Regions from separate parts of the Homo sapiens genome. Here region 2 is linked to region 1. Evidence: promoter capture Hi-C in 16 types of primary human blood cells and fetal thymus (Javierre and others, 2016). All regions are on one chromosome and are shown on one strand. Each heading gives the region's core, a stretch centred on a gene start or on the middle of the fragment in contact. The rest is flanking DNA. Distances are from core to core; before and after follow the strand shown. Region 1 holds the start of PPP4R3A (protein phosphatase 4 regulatory subunit 3A). Region 2 holds the start of LINC02321 (long intergenic non-protein coding RNA 2321).

The links. The method cuts DNA at HindIII sites, captures the fragments that hold promoters and counts their contacts. A CHiCAGO score of 5 or more calls a contact.
Region 2: a contact is called between a fragment that was not itself captured here and the fragment with the promoter of PPP4R3A in region 1, in 1 of 17 cell types (activated CD4 T cells). The highest score is 5.7, in activated CD4 T cells.

The regions. Positions count from the first base shown.
Region 1 is chr14:91,508,894-91,511,593 of GRCh38, forward strand. It overlaps PPP4R3A (protein phosphatase 4 regulatory subunit 3A), which reads right to left and starts at 1,417. Exons shown (of 15, transcript NM_001366432.2): 1 at 613-1,417. The coding sequence starts at 754. RefSeq lists enhancers at 17-668, 669-1,319, 1,137-1,416 and silencers at 427-476, 727-786, 797-896, 1,477-1,676. The HindIII fragment of the contact is 5,922 bases long and covers 97-2,700 here.
Region 2 is chr14:90,825,709-90,828,408 of GRCh38, forward strand. It overlaps LINC02321 (long intergenic non-protein coding RNA 2321), which reads right to left and starts at 2,466. Exons shown (of 4, transcript NR_184259.1): 1 at 2,281-2,466. RefSeq lists a silencer at 2,497-2,700. The HindIII fragment of the contact is 3,534 bases long and covers 1-2,700 here.

The DNA.
Region 1 (2,700 bases), core at 167-2,666:
ATTACTATAAAAAAGACAACCAACACTGGTGAACGAAAATCTTCGCAAGGGAAAGCGTTTTCTCTTAGTGTAGAGTTGCCAGATACAGTGTTGCCAAGCTTCAACACGATCAGAAACATGTAGCAAAAAGATGTTTAAAAAGAAAAACAAAAAAAGCACAGCAAAACGTTCTTCAAAGTGTGAAAGGTCCAAGAACTTTCTTAGCTCCAAGCAAAGTTTCATGCCTGCTTTACAGATGGGTGAACTAAGGCAGCAGATCGGATTAATCAGTGTCTTTCTCAAGGTCACTCTAGTGCAAAAGAACAGCACACTCCGGACTCCCTATCTCAGGTCCTCGACCTCTCCACACTCCAGGGCGGCACAGCTCAAACACGCTTGGCTCTCCTCGTACCCAAAATGCCACCAGGCACTCAGAGAAAGGAAACATTTCAAGCGCTCTCCGGGGAGCTCCCGCAAGACTGGGGTACCTGGGGCCCGTCCTCCCCCGAGGTGGCCGCCCTCCCCAGCCGTCCCTCTGTTCTCGTGGAGCGAGCGCCATGCCCCGCAAGAACCAGGGAGGCGGCCCAGGGCCGTGGGGGCTGCGAGGGTCCCGCCGCGCGGGGCTTCACTTACCGTCGCTCTCAGCCCTGACAAGCAGGGACATGCCCTTCAGCCGCTCCACGTAGCCAGACGACACATGCCCGGTGCCCCGGTCGTCCCACTGCCGGTCCTCGTTGAGCGTGTACACCTTCACCCGCCGCCGGGTGTCGGTCATCGTGCCGCCCGGGAACCGGGGCGGGGGCCCCGCCAGTAGACGCCCAGGAAAGGGGCCCTGGAGAGGCGAGGGGCGAGGCGTGAGGGCGCCCGCGAGCGGAGGGCTCCCCGGCCTCACTGCCGCCGCTGGGCGCCGCGGGGCCGCGCCGCCGCCTGCATGGCCCGCTCCAGGGACCGAGCTCTGGGCCGCCGCCTTTCCTCGCCTCCGGCTCCCCGGCGCTATTGTCCAGGCCTGGCGAGCCCGGCGCCCGGCAGCCCCGAGGGGGCCGCGCAGCGCTTCGTAGCCTCCCGCCCCGCAGCGCTAGGAACTCGGGGCTCCCGTCACTGCCCTGCTCCCGCCTCCGCCATGATCTCCGCGAAGCAGCTTCCCGCGCCGCCGCCGCCTCCTCAGGCCGCCGCCGCCGCCGCCATATTTTCCTTCCTTATACCTGGCCCTGCCACCGCGGCCAGTGGCTCCCTTCCGCTCCCCCTGTTTTAAACGTCAGAAGCCGACAGGCGCCTGATCCTGCTGCAACTGCTACCACTGCCCGGGAGACTCTGAGGGCCCCCGGCCGCCCAAGCGACCCGGACTAGTGGAAGTCGGTTTCCCTCCGCCGCCGTCTCTTCCGTCTTCCTCACACAGCCAAAACCGCCGCCATCTTGGTTCGCCCCTCAAAAGCGGCGCGCGGGGCCACCCAGGGAGCAGCTGCAGGGGCGGCTCGTAGCCCCACCATTTAAAGAGACAGCAGCGAGACCGGGAGCCTTACTGCGGCGGAGGCTTCCGACGGAGGCGGGAGGCGGGCGCGGAGTTGCCGAGGTGGCGGGAGCGCAGGGAGCGGAGGAGGCGGGACGCAGATTGCGCCGGTGACAGCCCGAGGCTCCCTCCCGCCTCCTTGCACGCACCGTCGTGCGAGCGCTGGGCGGTGTGTGCGTCCGTCGCGCCCTGTGTTCGTCATCAGCCCCGCTCCAGGATGCACGAGGGGCGTGGATACGTTTGCGGCCTCTGCCCGCGGGCCCCGGCGCTTCGGCCTCGCCTCCGCCCGCCGCCACCTTCCCTTGTTCCTGCCCCGTCCCTGCCTCTGCCCCTGCCCCTGGCCTGCGGACGCCGGGCAGCGTGGGCCTGGGCCCCTACCCGCTTCCGAGAGCGTTTTCCCGGGGCCGCCTTTATGGCTGAGTCGGGCGCTCGGGACCCACCCGGCGCCTTGCGGACTTGAGGGAATGAAATGGAAACGCTTCCGGGGAAGGTCGCGGGTGTGGGCGCCTAGGTCGGCGCAGCCTTGGGAGCCGCCGTGGGTCGCGGACTGGCGTGGCCAGTGTGGAAACTTGGGACTGTTTGCGATTTCTGGGCGTGGGACCGAGTTCCAAGTGACAATTCTAAAACTTCACCTTACAGCCTAGGCAAGCCCCAAGTGCTCCATTCCTTCATCCCTATCAGAACTGTCTGCCAGCCTTTCTTGTCGGAAAAGGAACTTAAGGCGCTCACAAAAACAAATGCGACACTGTGTAATCGGGAGGAGTAATTCTCAGCATTAGGTAGTCCTGTGTTTTGAAGACCTACTTGATGTCAAGTATTGTTGATCTTCACAAAGGAATATCATTCTCGTTCCTATCATGCAGCTCATATGCCACCATTTTGGTGGCTTTTACCATTTGCCAGGCCTTGCCAGGTCGGGCTTGTCCGCTCGGAATATAATGCAGCCACACACATAACTTTAAATTTTGCAGTAGCCACAAAAAGTACGAAGAAACTGGTGAAATTAGTGTTAACGTTTTAGTGCGGTATTTTCAAAAGTTATTTCAATAATCAAATTACTAATGAGATATACGTACAATGTCTTAAAAATGTGATATATTTTGTCCTTCCAGCAAGTCTCTGTTGGGATACTAAATTTTCATCAGAAATATCTACGTTTAGATTTTATTGAAAAAAAATTTTTTTTGAGACAGGGTCTCTCTGTCACCCATCCT
Region 2 (2,700 bases), core at 40-2,539, 680 kb before region 1:
CAATTCTCCCTGCCTCAGCCTCCCAAGTAGCTGGGATTACAGGAATCTGCCACCATGCCCAGCTAATGTTTGCATTTTTTAGTAGAGACAGGGTTTCACCATGTTGGCTAGGCTGGTCTTGAACTCCTGACCTCAGGTGATCTGCCCACCTCGGCCTCCCGAAGTGCTGGGATTACAGGTGTGAGCCACTGCGCCTGGCAGAATGGTTTGATTTAAATGATGTTGTTGATTCACATATCAGGAGTTTGTTTGTTTGTTTGTTTTTTGAGATTAAAGTCTTGCTCTGTCACCCAGGCTGGAATGCAGTGGCACAATCTTGGCTCACTGCAACTTCTGCCTCTGGGGTTCAAGTGATCCTCCTCCCTTACCTTCCCAAGTAGCTGAGATTACTGGCATATGCCACCACGCCTGCCTAATTTTTGTATTTTTAGTAGAGACGGGATTTCACCATGTTGGCCAGTCTGGTCTCGAACTCCCGACCTCAAGTGGTCTGTCCACCTCAGCCTCCCAAAGTGCTGGGATTACAGGTGTGAGCCACCACGCCCAGCTGACATCAGGAGTTTTAAAGAGAAATCACGAACTAGGTGGGCACAAGGGACCTGGTTGTTCCTGGGGAGTTGTATCAGCAAACAGGTTTGAAGTTTGCACTTCGGACACGTTACTGTGAAAAAAAGAAACTAATTCTCATTTTGTGTGAAGGAGCCTGATAGACACAGGATCTGCTTCAGTGAGGAATTGTGAGTGATCTTCCCCTGCACAAGGCCAATAGGGTGCAAGGTTTCCACAGTTCAATTCAACAAACGTTTATTGAGTACCTACTATGTGCCGGACACAGTGTTAGGCCTTAGTGATACAATATTGTGTAGGGTATGGTCCCATCCCTCAAGGAACTCACAGTCTAGTGGGGGAAAGAAGTGAGCAACAGCTCTGCAGCCGGACCCAGAGGAACGCCAGGAATTAACTGTGGTGGGTGCTCCAGTAAGTCTTCCTGGAGAATGTTGCCCCCAAGCCAAGCCTTGAAAAAGGATCTCAGGTCCAGTCTGCTCACCAACCCTCACCATCTAACAAAGTGGTCCTGGGTTTTCAAAACTCTTGCACTCAAAATAGGGTCCCAGTATTCAGACATATGCAGTCCCAGATCACCCCCGACCATCAGATGAGAAAAACCCAACAATCTGGTCTCCTTTCCTGCAGCAAAGCACTTGGTGGTCAGAAGGGTTGGGGGTGAAGGTTTATGGGATCTGCTGGACAGCTGGTGAGGCATACAGACACTTCTGGTTATTATCTTTCTCCCAAATCAAATGCTAAAGGTACTAAAACCATGCTGACTGCATGAACCATTCCCTGGGGACTGGTAGGGCATTCCATTCCTCCCCACATTTGGGAGTCCAAACTGGGGTGGAGGGGTAAGAAGTAAAAGGTCTGGGTCAAGTGCTGCCCATCAGCTTGTTCATGATCAGGTACCCTTCAGTTTCCTTATTTGTAAGAGGAGAGTGCTAGTCAAGGAGGTCCTGGGCTCTGGTCGTTGATTCTGTCCTGTCAAAGTGAGAGTGGCTGGAATGGGATTGGTATATGGGTGCTCCCATACAGCTGAGGTTCCTTTCTGAGCTCTCAGGAAGCAAATTAAAAAAAAAATAATAATAATTACCAGGTGAGATGGCTCACAGCTGTAGTCCCAAGCACTTTGGGAGGCCGAGGCGGGTGGATCACCTGAGGTCAGGAGTTCGAGACCAGCCTGGCCAACATGATGAAACCCGTCTCTATTAAAAATACAAAAATTAGCCGGGTGTGGTGGTGGGCACTTGTAATCCCAGCTACTCGGGAGGCTGAGGCAGAAGAATCGCTTAAACCCGGGAAGCAGAGATTGCAGTGAACCAAGATCACTCCACTGCACTCCACCCTGGGTGACAGAGTGAGACTCCATCTCAAAAAAATAAAAAATGAAAAATAAAAATAAAACGAATAATAATAATAAGGCATCTGAAAAAACTCTTGAAGTTAGGAAACCTGGATTTGATTTTCATCTCTGTAACTGACCTGCCGTGTGACCTTGTGAAAGGCGTGTCCCCTCTCTGGGGGTGTCAGTGGACTAATTCCCGAGTTAGCTGTGGGGGGAGATGATCACTGGCATTTAACAGTAAGGTGGGGCTTCAGAAGTCCATCTACTGCGAAGCAAGAGAAAACTCCACGGAATACACGACTGAAACGAGTGGGAAGCCAGATGTGTCACGGACGTAGGGAGGGGAAGATGAAGGTCCCAGCAAAATCCCGGGAACATACCTGTCAAAGGGTCAGCGAGAAAACCAGTCCCTTGGCTGGTTGAAAGGAACACTTGATTCTTTGTCAGAAAGCAGCCTTGCGCTTCTAAGGGGTCTGCTGTCTGAAAGAAGCCTTCGAGGCTCGCAGACCTGGGGAAGAACTCAACCTGCCTTCAGCCCATGGGGACTGGGGCCGGCGCGGCTTTCTGGAATCGAACGGAACGAGGCGACCAGGCGCGGCGGCGGCAGCCAATGAGGGAGCCTCCTGATGAGGTCATGCAGTTCCTGGGCGCTTCATTGGCGGATCCTTCGCGGGGCCGCGGCGGGGGCCGCAGGGCGGAGCGAGGCGGGGCGAGGCGGGGCGGAGGCGGTGCCTGCCAGAGCCCGGACCTAAAACCGCGGTTCGATTTTCCTTATTTCCTCCCAGCGCTTATTTCCCCTG